Regions from separate parts of the Homo sapiens genome. Here all the other regions are linked to region 2. The links are contacts of gene promoters, found by promoter capture Hi-C in human tissues and cell types (Jung and others, 2019). All regions are on one chromosome and are shown on one strand. Each heading gives the region's core, a stretch centred on a gene start or on the middle of the fragment in contact. The rest is flanking DNA. Distances are from core to core; before and after follow the strand shown. Region 1 has its middle 160 kb from the start of LYSMD4. Region 2 holds the start of ADAMTS17 (ADAM metallopeptidase with thrombospondin type 1 motif 17). Region 3 overlaps ADAMTS17 (ADAM metallopeptidase with thrombospondin type 1 motif 17). Region 4 overlaps ADAMTS17 (ADAM metallopeptidase with thrombospondin type 1 motif 17).

Region 1 (2,984 bases), core at 479-2,978, 440 kb before region 2:
CCATAATGTTTTCAGGGAAGACACTGGAAAATATTTGGCAAGCTTGACACCGTTATGTCTTCTAATATTGAAAGCAGACATGACTGATCCGTCACTACAGTCTTCACAAGTTTCATGTTCACAATACATTTAAGCACCCATTACCAAATATTAACATCCGCATATAAACTAAGCTCTGTTAACCTAGCCAGGCATATTAGTCAGTTCTCACGCTGCTGATAAAGACATACCTGAGACTGGGCAATTTACAAAAGAAAGAGGTATAATTGGACTTACAGTTACACTTGGCTAGGGAAACCTCACAGTCATGGCAGAAGGCAAGGACGAGCAAGTCAGGTCTTAAGTGGATAGCAGCAGGCAAACAGAGAGCTTATGCAGGAAAACTTCCCCTTACCATCAGATCTTGTGAGACTTCCTCTCATGAGAACAGCACGGGAAAGACCTGCACCATGATTCAATTACCTGCCACCAGGTCCCTCCCACAACACGTGGGAATTCAAGATAAGATTTTGGTGGGGACACAGCCAAACCATATAATTCTGCCCCTGGCCCCTCCCAAATCTCATGTCCTCACATTTCAAAGCCAATCATGCCTTCCCATCAGTCCTGCAAAGTCTTAACTCATTTCAGCATTACTCAAAAGTCAATAGTCCAAAGTCTCATCTGAGACAAGAGAATTGCCTTCTGCCTATGAGCCTGTAAAATCAAAAGCAAGTTAGTTACTTCCTAGATAAGATGTGGGTATAAGCATTGGATAAATACAGCCATTCCAAATGGGAGACATTGGCCAAAACAAAGGGGCTACAGGCCCCATGCAAATCTGAAATCCAGCAAGGCAGTCAAATCTTCAAGCTGTGAAATGATTTCCTTTGGCTCTGTGTCTCACATCCAGGTCACACTGATGCAAGATGTGGGTTCCCATGGTCTTGGGCAGCTCCACCCCTGAGGCTTTGGTGGGTACAGCCTCTCTCTTGGCTGCTTCTGTCGGCTGGCATTGAGTATCTGTGACTTTTCCAGGTGGATGGTACAAGCTGTCAGTGAATCTGCCATTCTGGGGTCTGGAGGATGGTGGCCCTCTTCTCATAGCATCCCTAGATGGCGCCCCAGTAAGGACTCTGTGTGGGGGCTCTGACCCCACATTTCCCTTTCACACTGCCCTAGCTGAGGTTCTCCATGAGCCCCCCACTCCCACCCTGGCCACAGCAAACTTTTGCCTGGGCATCCAGGCATTTTCATACATCTGAAATCTAGGCCGAGGTTCCTAAACCTCAATTCTTGACTTCTGTGCACCTGCAGACTCAACACCACGTGGAAGCTGCCAAGGCTTGGGGCTTCCACCTTCTGAAGCAAAGCCCAAGCTGTACTTTGGCCCTTTTTAGTCATGGCTGGGGTGGCTGGGATGCAGGGCACCAAGTCCTTAGATTGCACACAGCACAGGGACCCTGGGCCTGGCCCAGGAAACCATTTTATCCTAGGCCTCTGAGCCTGTGATGGAAGGGGCTACCATGAAGACCTCTGACATGCCCTGGAGACATTGTCCCCATTGTTTTGGGGATTAACATTGGGCTCCTAGTTACTTATGCAAATTTCTGCAATCCACTCATAAAATGGATTTTCTTTTCTATCACATTGTTAGGCTGCAAATTTTCTCAACCTTTATGCTCTGCTTCCCTTATAAAACTGAGTGCCTTTAACAGCACCCAAGTCATCTCTTGAATGTTTTGCTGCTTAGAAATTTCTTCCACCAGATGCACTAAATCATCTCTCTCAAGTTCAAAGATCCACAAATCTCTAGGGCAGGGACAAAATGCTGCCAGTCTTTTTACTAAAACATAACAAGAGTCACCTTTGCTCCAGTTCCCAACAAGTTCCTCATCTCTATCTGAGACCACATCAGCCTGGCCCTTATTGTCCATATCACTATCAGGCTTTTGGTTAAAGCCATTCAGCAAGTCTCTAGGAAGTTCCACACTTTCCCACATTTTCCTGTCTTTTTCTGAGCCCTCCAAAGTGTTCCAACCTCTGCCTGTTACCCAGTTCCAAAGTTGCTTCTACATTTTTGGGTATTTTTTCAGTAATGCCCCACTCTACTGGTACCAATTTCCTGTATTAGCCTCTTTTCATGCTTCTAATAAAGACATACCTGAGACTGGACAATTTACAAAAGAGGTTTAATTAGACTTACAGTTCCATGTGGCTGGGAAAGCCTCACAATCATGGTGGAAGGCAAAGAGGAGCAAATCACATCTTACATGGATGGCAGCAGGCAAAGAGAGAGCTTGTGAAGGAAAATTCCCCCTTATATTAACCATCAGATCTTGTGAGACTTCCTCTCATGAGAACAGCACAGGAAAGACTTGCCCTCATGATTCAATTACCTGCCACCAGGTCCCTCCCACAACACATGGGAATTCAAGATGAGATTTGGGTGGGGACAAAGCCAAACCATATCACCAGGTTTCAGAAGATGAGAGGAAACTCACCCAGCACTGACTCTTCTGGATAGCTTCTTGCCTGGTAACCTCAGACTGAATGTGTCCTTCACAGGCCCAAGCTCCTCTCAAGATGGCCCTTTCCTTACAACGTCTCATGCTAGGTTCCAGAAACTCCTCCTCTAGCCTGTTCTGGCCAAGACAGTAATGGCTCCACTGTCACTAGAATAGGGCATTTCACTAACCTCTGTTCTTTTCCTATACACTGTTCTTCCCTTTGTAAATAGGTTCTTTATTCAATCTTCTGCAATTACCTTTATTTGTTTGTGACAGCTGCTTTCTGCTGGTAAACTGACTGACACAGTAGGAATTTTGAAGCTACCAGTTTAAATAGCAATATAATTTTCATAATTAAGTGGGATTTATCCCTGGGATGCAGGAATGGTTCAACATACACAAATCAATATATACTATCTACCACATTAAAAGAATGAAAGACAGAATTAATATGATCATTTCCATAGATGCAGAAAATGTGTTTGACAAAATTCA
Region 2 (3,071 bases), core at 484-2,983:
CAGGGCAAGTGCACACAAGAACCCCCCCTCCCCCTGGGAGCACCTGTTCCGGGTGCCTCAAATGCAACAGGCCAGGAACTTCGGGGCAGGGAAGTTACTGCCACAGCAAGGGAGCTCCTGGGGGCAGGAATAGGGTTTATCACCAATGTAAACACCCCTCAGGCCTGGTTGGGGGTGGGCACCAGATAAATGCCTACTAATAGTATAAGGAAGCAAAGACAAACACCCTTTCTCTCCTGTTTCTTACGTTTCAGCTAGGAAGAGTGGGGTGAGCCGTGGCCTGTCTGGGTACCTCTCCAAACTTCCTGTTCCAGGTACAGAGAGAAGACTCAAAAGGAAGGGAGGTGAATGCCCACTCCCCCACCTCCAAGTCCAAGAACATAACACCTACACGTACACAGGTACTCCCGTGACATACACTTTGACACGGCGGTGCAGATGCAGTGTTCTCTACATTGGGGCCAAGGCGCCTCTGTCCAGGGCCCTGACAGTTTCATCCCTGCCAGATCTGCGCTCCCTAGAGCGGGCGGCGTATACCCCACGCAACCCCAGCTCCGCGCGGGTTCCACGGGCTGCAGAGGCGCTGGACTGGGATGCTGCCCCTCCCACCCCCTTTGCCTATAGAGGGTACCGAAGGCCGGGGTGGGGGATGGGGAGAGGTGGAAAGGCAGGGGGTTCCCTCCGGTTCCCCTGGAGGCTGGACTTCCAGCAGAGGCGCCCCACCCCCACCCTCCACGGCGACCACTCTGCGTCGCAACAGACCGGACGGGCCGACCCGGAGGTGGCGCGGGCAGTACCAGGCCGCCGGCGGCGCCGCAGGCGCTGAGCGAGACGAGGGAGCCGGGGTGGCCGAGCACACGGCCCGAGTAGAAGCACAGCTCGGCGGGGCGGCCGCGGCGCCGGGCCGCGCCCGCCTCCTCCACCTCGAAGCCTCGGGACAGGAAGCGCAGGTCGCGGCGCAGCTGAAGGTACAGGTCGCGCCCGAAGGCCGGCAGGTGCAGCAGCAGGGCGCGCTCTCCGGGCCGGGCGCGCGGGGCGGCTGGGGGCGTGCGGGGGCGTCGCCGCCGTCGGGGCCCGGGGGCTGCGGGCAGCGGCGGCAGGTGCACGTCGTCGGGGCGCACCCGCCACGGGAGCACCACCTCCACGTCGGCCGCCGCGTCGCCGACAGCTGCGGGGAGAGAGGAGACGCGTCAGCGCGGCGGGGCCCGCCCGGACGCCCGCCCTCCCGCTGGCCGCCAGCCGCGCCAGCGCGGGGACAGCGCGACCCGGAGCCGGCGCTGCCTTCCCTTCCCTCGCCCGGCACCTCCACGCTGGCCCGCGCCACCCGGGGAGGGTCTCCGGCGCAGCCGCGCGAGCACCTCCCGGAACGGCGCCGCGCATCGGCGAGCGGAGACCCGGCGGCGGCGCGCCTGCCACGGAGCCACCCGATTCCCGTACTCCGGCCGCGGCCCGCGCCTCCTCCGCTCGGGCGCCGTCAGCGGTCCCGCCGCCGCCCCCGGGCCGCCAGGACGCCGCGAGAACGCAGAGGGAAGGTAGCCGCAGGACGCGGGGTGAAGAGGGCTGTGGGAGGGGGCGCTACCTGTGCCCGGGTCCAGTCCCCAAACCAGCAGCAGCAGCACGGGCAGGACGAGCGGAGGCAGCAGGGCGCCGTCACACATGGTACCCGGGACCGGCAGCCCCCCCGGACCGTGGCGGCGAAGCAGGAGCGCGCTAGGCGGCGGCGCCAGCCGGAGTGAAGCCCTCCAGCCTTTGGAAAAAGTAATTAGCGCTGCGGACAAACCCAACGTGGTAAACCCCAAGCCCCGCCTTCCCCTCGGAAGGCGGGAGGGGATTGGGCCCTCGCTTTCCTCCGCCCCGCCTCCTCCTTCCCTACTGGTTGGGATGGGTCGAAACCACAGTGCGTAGTTAGGTTGTCAGCGCTTTCTTACACGTGGTTTCTGGGCAGTGGCGGGGACACGGCACCAGGTGGCGCGCGGGAGCCGACCGGAGCCGTGGGACCCTGGAAGAGCTGGAGGATGCGGGGCTGGTCTTCAGAGCTTGTCCTCATTTTGGAACTCTCTCAGCCTGCTGCCCAGTTTCCCGGGAAGGTAGGGCGGAAATCGCCCCGGCCAAGCGGTTTCATCCAAAACTGCATATAATCTTTACATCTGAAGTTAGGTTTTAGTTGTTTGTGGCCGCAAAGACTCCCAGTCCACTTTCCCGCACACCTGAGTTAGCACCTGAAGGCTATATCCGCGGCGTTTATCCAAACTCTTCACACCTCCTGTCTTCTTTAATCCCACAGGAGCCAGTGCAACACGCATGCTCACACCCTCTTACAGACTGAAAAACTGAGGAAGAGAGAGAGCTTAAGGAAAAACGCTGAAGTTACCCAGAGAGTTCCTGTTGGAGCAGAGGCTAGAATTTGTGATCCTGATTTCTGGCTTGGTGCTTCTTATTAACAGCAGGATCCCCCCGCCCCGAGGGAAGCAGGACTCAGTGTTACAGGTTAGGAAACGGAGGCACAAAGTCCCAAAGCCTAGCCTTGAACGTGAGTCTCCCAGAAACAGAATGAGTTGATCCTTTCCTGCCACAATATAACTGAGGTCTGCAGGGAAGGTGACTCCATTAGCTTGCTGAATAGCATCTTGTAGAGGCTCATGCCTGTAATCCCAGCACTTTGGGAGGCCAAGGCGGGCGGGTCACGAAGTCAGGGGTTCCAGACTAGCCTGGCCAATATGGTGAAACCCTGTCTCTACTAAAAATACAAAAATTAGCCAGGCGTGATGGCGCACACCTGTAGTCCCAGCTACTCGGGAGGCTAAGGCAGAAGAATCGCTTGAACCCGGGGGGTGGAGGTTGCAGTGAGCCGAGATTGTGCCACTGCACTCCAGCCTGGGCAACAGAGCAAGACTCCATCTCAAAAAAACAAAACAAAACCAAACAAAACAAAAAAAACAATTAAGTGTAACCATAACCAATCTCAGGTTTCCCGTCCCTTCCCTGTCCTGCTCTTTTCCATTTTATCATAGCAGAAAGGTTATAGTTCCCCGCTGGATGCTGCTTGAAGCCTCGGAATCTAAATTCATCAC
Region 3 (3,024 bases), core at 75-2,574, 260 kb before region 2:
GGGAATGACTGTGGTGATATGGCACCATTCCTTGGGGTGATCAGCCAGCAACCTGGTGGCAAGTTGATTATATTGTACCTTTTCCATCATGGAAACGGCAGTGGTTTGTCCTCACTGGAATAGACACTTACTCCGGATATGGGTTTGCCTATCCTGCACGAAATGCTTCTGCCAAGACTACCATCCGTGGAGTCTCGGAATGCCTTATCCACCATCATGGTATTCCACACAGCACTGCCTCTGACCAAGGCACTCACTTTACAGCTAAAGAGGTGTGGCAGTGGGCTTATGCTCATGGAATTCACTGGTCTTACCATGTTCTCCATCATCCTGAAGAGGCTGCAAAGAACGGTGGAATGGCCTTTTGAAGTCACAATTACAATGCCAACTAGGTGACAACACTTTGCAGGGCTGAGGCAAAGTTCTCCAGCAGGCCGTATATGTTCTGAATTAGCATCCAATATACGGTACTGTTTCTCCCATAGCCAGGATTCACGGTCCAGGAATCAAGGGGTGAAACTGAACTGACACCACTCACCATCACCCCTAGTGATCCCCTAGCAAAATTTTTGCTTCCTGTTCCCCCGACATTACATTCTGCTGGCCTGGAGATCTTAGTTCCAGAGGGAGAAATGCTGCCACCAGGAGACACAATGATTCCATTAAACTGGAAGATTGGTACCCACCTGGACACTTTGGGCTCCTCCCACCTTTAAGTCAACAGGCCAAGAAGGGAGTTACAGTGTTGACTGGGGTGACTGACCTGGACTATCAAGATGAAATCAGTCTACTACTCCACAAAGGAGGTAAGGAAGAGTATGCATGGAATACAGGAGATCCATTAGGGCGTCTCTTAGTATCACCATGCCCTGTGACTAAGGTCAATGGGAAACTACAACAGCCCAATCCAGGCAGGACTACAAATGACCCAGACCATTCAGGAATGAAGGTTTGGGTCACTCCACCAAGAAAAAACCCACGTCTTGCTGAGGTGCTTGCTGAAGGCAAAGGGAATACAGAACGGGTAGTAGAAAAAGGTAGTTATCGATACCAGCTACAACCATGTGACCAGCTGCAGAAATGAAGTCTGTAATTATTTCCTCCTTTTTTTGCTAAAAACATGTTTGTGCATGTATACACTTGTACTAAGAAAGTATATTTCCTTTTCCTTTATCATGTGACATAACATTTATTGACTTCATATCAGCATGTTAAGTATTGTTAACTTTATGTAATAGTATTTGGGTTGGGGATTGGTGTATTTCTGGTTGTACGAAGGATAGCTGTAGTATGTTAGGGGTAATTATGACCTTATTATTGTCTTTATTTGAAGACTATGTGTGTTCTCAGGAGATGTGTATGGGTTCAAGTTGACTTGGGGTGGACTTGTGATGGTTGATACTGAGTGTCAACTTGATTAGATTAAAGGATACAAAGTATTGATCCTGGATGTGTCTGTGAGGGTGTTGCCAAAAGAGTTTAACATTTGGGTCAGGGGGCTGGGGAAGGCAGATCCACCCTTAATCTGGTGGGCACAATCTAATCAGCTGCCAGCAAATACAAAGCAGGCAGAAAAACATGAAAAGGAGAGGTGGGCCTAGGCTCCCAGCCTACATCTTTCTCCTGTGCTAGATGCTTCCTGCCCTGGAACATCAGACCCCAAGTTCTTCAGTTTTGGGACTGGGACTGGCTCTCCTTGCTCCTCAGCTTGCGGACAGCCTATTGTGGGATGTTGTGATTACGTAAGTTAATACTTAATAAACTCCCCTATATATATATGCACACATACATACACACACACTACTTAATAAACTCCCATATATATGTATGTGTGTATCTCCTCTACAGAACCCTAATACATGGCTGCATGACCTTGTGCTAAAACTCATTCAATCGCACACTTTAAATGGGTGAATTATATGGCATGTGAATTCTATCTTTATAAAGCTGCTTAGAAAAGAAACAATACTTCTATGAATGGCTTTGTACATGTCTTCTTATGCATAGATATAATGTCCTACCAGGTCAGCTACTGTGAGAATCACTGAGACAAACACAGGTGCTGCTTAGTTGACCTTGGTTTAAATACTATTTAAGCCAACCAACACTATACGAGAGTAAACGTTTACTCAAAGATTTCTAAATACTTGACAAAATCAATCTTCTTAGTATTTGCTAATCCATTTGGTGAAAAGATGTTGTCATAAGTTGAATTTGCATTTCCCTGATAACCAACAAGGCTCAGCGTCCTATACACTTATTGACCATTTGTTTTCCCTTTTCAGTTAATGGCCTTGTTCTTAAGCTTTGCCCATTTTTCTACCATCTTTTATTTAGTTATGATGCAGTAGTTTAAAAAATGTCCATAACATATATTACTATAATTTGATAATATTTGGACTCAGACTCTTTACTTACTAGACATGTTGCAAAAATTGTCAGTCTATCAGTCTATCATCTGTTGTTTCTTTGCTTTTATTGATTTTTTTGTTTTCTTTGAGACCAAGAGTCTTGCTTCTGTTGCCCAGGCTGGAGTGCAGCGGTGCAATCTTGGCTCACTGCAACCTTCGCCTCCTGGGTTCAAGCGATTCTCCTGCCTCGGCCTCCCGAGTAGCTGGGACTACAGGCACGTGCCACCACGCCCAGCTAATTTTTGTATTTTTGGTAGAGATGGGGTTTTACCATGTTAGCCAGGATGGTCTCCATCTCTTGACCTCATGATCCACCCACCTTGGCCTCCCAAAGTGCTGGGATTACAGGCGTGAGCCACCGTGCCTGGCCTTATTGCATGGTTTTGATAGTCTTTTTTTTTTTTTGAGACAGGGTCTCAGTCTGTTGCCCAGGATGGAGTGCAGTGGCGTGATCTCAGCTAACTGTAACCTCTGCACCCCCACCCCAGCTCATGCAATCCTCCTGCCCCCGCTTCCTGAGTAGTGGGGACTTCAGGCACACACCACCGTGTCTACCTGATTTTTTTGTATTTTTTGTAGAGGCAGGGTTTCGCCATGTTGCTCAGGCTGGTCT
Region 4 (3,144 bases), core at 425-2,924, 350 kb before region 2:
AATGGGTTATAACCCTGGGGACTGTGCCCCAGAACCGTGTGAACATTGGGTGGTGGATTTTGGGCAATGAAATGAAATGGGTTTAGTTGTCCAAGTACTTAGACATATATATTAGCATCTTGAAACCTCTAAGCATCTCTGAGAAACAGGCAGGGTCAGTGTTTATGATTCCCATTTCAGAGATAAAGAGAGGTTAAGGCACACAAGTAGAGAGTCAGAGCTGTAAATCAGCCCCTTAATGTCTCTATTGTGTGAGTTCAAGTTCTCATGGTTCGAAGTGCATCTTTCTTTTCGCTCTCTTGACTGAGCTGGAGTGCAGTGGTGCAATAATGGCTCACTGTAGCTTCGACTTCCCTGGCTCAAGTGATCCTCCCGCCTCAGCCTCCTAAGGAGCTAAGACTATGGGCATGTGCCACCACGCCCAGCTATTTTTTTGATTTTTTTTTGTAGAGACAGGGTATCCCTATGTTTCCCAGGCTGGTCTGGAACTTCTGGGCTCAAGCAATCCTGCCTTGGCCTCCCAAAGTGCTGGGACTACAGGTGTGAGCCACCACGCCCAGCCAAAGCACACATATCTTTTGTGGGAGCTCTGAAGTTAAGTTTCTCTGCCAGTGAAAGATACATCCTGGCAGCTCCATACTAAGCTTTATTAACATCCAAGTAACTGTGTGACGTCCCTGTTTGGTTTTGGGGAAACTGGACTGACAGCCTCAGTTCTATTGCCTTGGTCAGATGTTTTGACCAGGGAGTAAATAGGAAGGAGGTGTTTTAGGTCCTTCTCAAATTCACTGTTAATCCAGAATAATAGGGTACCTTAGCACTACCAGGCAAACTGGGAATTGGGAAATTTGGCTTTTTTTTTTTTTTTACTCAAAGGGTTTGGGGAACTTTGTGTTCTGACTTGGGCTGATGGGAAGGTGGTAGCATTTCTGCAGGGATCAGATTCTGATAAATTTTGCCTTCCAATGGAAAACCCATTTTTCCTTCCGTAAAGCACAGGCAGAAGCAAAATTACCTGCCTGAGCCATGTTGCCACATTTTCATAGCGAAGCCAAAACCTAAATTTTCAAATGAAATTTCAGAAATAATGCCACACATCTACAACCATCTGATCTTTGACAACCCTGACAAAAACAAGCAATGGGGAAAGGATTCCCTATTTAATACCCGGTGTTGGGAAAACTGGCTAGCCATGTGTAGAAAACTGAAACTGGACCCTTTCCTTACACCTTGTACAAAAATTAACTCAAGATGGATTAAAGACTTAAACCTAAGACCTAAAACCATGAAAACCCTAGAAGAAAACCTAGGCAATACCACTCAGGACATAGGCATGGTCAAAGACTTTGTGACTAAAACACCAAAAGCAATGGCAGCAAAAGCCAGAACTGACAAATGGGATCTAATTAAACTAAAGAGCTTCTGCACAGCAAAAGAAACTAGCATCAGAGTGAACAGGCAACCTACAGAATGGGAAAAAATTTTGCAATCTATCCATCTGACCAAAGGCTAATATCCAGAATCTACAAAGAACTTAAACAAATTTACAAGAAAAAACCAAACAACCCCATCAAAAAGTGGGTGAAGGATATGAACAGACACTTCTCAAAAGAAGACATTTATGCAGCCAATAAACATATGAAAAAAAGCTCATCATCACTGGTCATTAGAGAAATGCAAATCAAAACCACAATGAGATACCATCTCACGCCAGTTAGAATGGTGATCATTAAAAAGTCAGGAAACAACAGATGCTGGAGAGGATGTGGAAAAATAGGAATGCTTTTACACTGTTCATGGGGAATGTAAATTAGTTCAACCATTGTGAAAGACAGTGTGGCGATTCCTCAAGGATCTAGAACCAGAAATACCATTTGACCCAGCAATCCCTTTACTGAATATATACCCAAAGGATTATAAACCATTCCACTATAAAGACACATGCACACATACGTTTACTGCGGCACTGTTGACAATAGCAAAGACTTGGAACCAACCCAAATATCCATCAATGATAGACTGGATAAAGAAAATGTGGCACATATATACCACGGAATACTATGCAGCCACAAAAAAGGATGAGTTCATGTCCTTTGCAGGGACATGGATGAAGCTGGAAACCATCATTCTCAGCAAACTAACACAGGAACAGAAAATCAAACACTGCATGTTCTTACTCATAAGTGGGAGGTGAGCAATGAGAACATATGGACACAGGGAGGGGAACATCACACACCAGGGACTGTCGTAGGGTGGGGGGCTAGGGGAAGCAGTACATTAGGACAAATACCTAATGCATCTGGGGCTTAAAACCTAGATGATGGGTTGATGGGCGCAGCAAACCACCATGACACATGTATACCTGTGTAACAAACCTGCACTTTCTGCACATGTACCTCAGAACTTAAAAAAAAAATGCTAGCCACTAATTCCAACATGTTTAAGATATTCTGCAGGCTGAGCAAAAACCAATGGCTCTAGGTCAGCAGTTGGCAATCTTTGAGGGAAGAGCTATCAGGAGAAGCAAGCAGGAGTTTTTCAGTTGCTAAGACCATACAGAAGGACAAACACGGTCTATGCTTACAGGAGGAGTGGTACAGATTTTGTGAGAAGAGTCTAGAAAACCCACTAGAAGGTTCTTACAGGTGGCAGTGGGGCTCACCTTGGTCCCCAGAAAACAGGAATCATTCAAATATATCAGATGAATGAATAAAAGAGGAGTTAAACAACAAAGCATTTTCTTACCTGGAGAAACATTCAGTGGCCCTTTATTCACCCTTGCTCTCGGGAGTGCTGACCCGGCGGTTCTGTGATACTCCTCCCTGCTACCACCCCATGGCCCCCTGCCCTGTCTGTCCCTGCATCTCCAGGCCCTTGCCCAGGGGTCCCGGGAGTGAATGGAAGTGATGTTTGCCCCAAGTGTCCCCATGGCAGGAGGCTGGGGCCTGCCAGCACACCGCACAGCATGGCAAGCCTGGCATCCAGGGCACCCGCGTCCTGCCTTGGGCTGCGTTTCGGGTTCCTTCTGCATGCACGTGAAGCAGTGGGGTTCTCCCAGTGAGCCCCAAGGGGCAGTGCTGGTGCAGCCTGTGGGAGAAGCAGGGGAGGAAGCACACGGGGTCTTGGGTAGTTGCAGCGGGTGGA

The links. Contacts are between HindIII fragments. The study calls those that stand out against the background at their distance.
Region 1: a contact is called between a fragment that was not itself captured here and the fragment with the promoter of ADAMTS17 in region 2, in 2 of the 25 tissues and cell types used here (dorsolateral prefrontal cortex and thymus).
Region 3: a contact is called between a fragment that was not itself captured here and the fragment with the promoter of ADAMTS17 in region 2, in 3 of the 25 tissues and cell types used here (H1 embryonic stem cells, mesendoderm cells and stomach).
Region 4: a fragment that was not itself captured here is called in contact with the fragment with the promoter of ADAMTS17 in region 2 in 1 of the 25 tissues and cell types used here (mesendoderm cells).

The regions. Positions count from the first base shown.
Region 1 is chr15:99,895,989-99,898,972 of GRCh38, forward strand. No RefSeq gene overlaps it. Among named protein-coding and RNA genes, the nearest start is that of LYSMD4, 160 kb to the left of the region's middle. RefSeq lists an enhancer at 546-625. The HindIII fragment of the contact is 3,835 bases long and covers 1-2,984 here.
Region 2 is chr15:100,340,242-100,343,312 of GRCh38, forward strand. It overlaps ADAMTS17 (ADAM metallopeptidase with thrombospondin type 1 motif 17), which reads right to left and starts at 1,734. Exons shown (of 22, transcript NM_139057.4): 1 at 1,580-1,734; 2 at 798-1,168. The coding sequence starts at 1,658. RefSeq lists an enhancer at 68-586. The HindIII fragment of the contact is 7,903 bases long and covers 1-3,071 here.
Region 3 is chr15:100,079,583-100,082,606 of GRCh38, forward strand. All of the region lies in intron 15 of ADAMTS17 (ADAM metallopeptidase with thrombospondin type 1 motif 17), which reads right to left. Among named protein-coding and RNA genes, the nearest start is that of ADAMTS17, 260 kb to the right of the region's middle. The HindIII fragment of the contact is 5,822 bases long and covers 1-3,024 here.
Region 4 is chr15:99,989,774-99,992,917 of GRCh38, forward strand. All of the region lies in intron 20 of ADAMTS17 (ADAM metallopeptidase with thrombospondin type 1 motif 17), which reads right to left. Among named protein-coding and RNA genes, the nearest start is that of LYSMD4, 260 kb to the left of the region's middle. RefSeq lists enhancers at 2,471-2,985, 2,986-3,144. The HindIII fragment of the contact is 5,236 bases long and covers 1-3,144 here.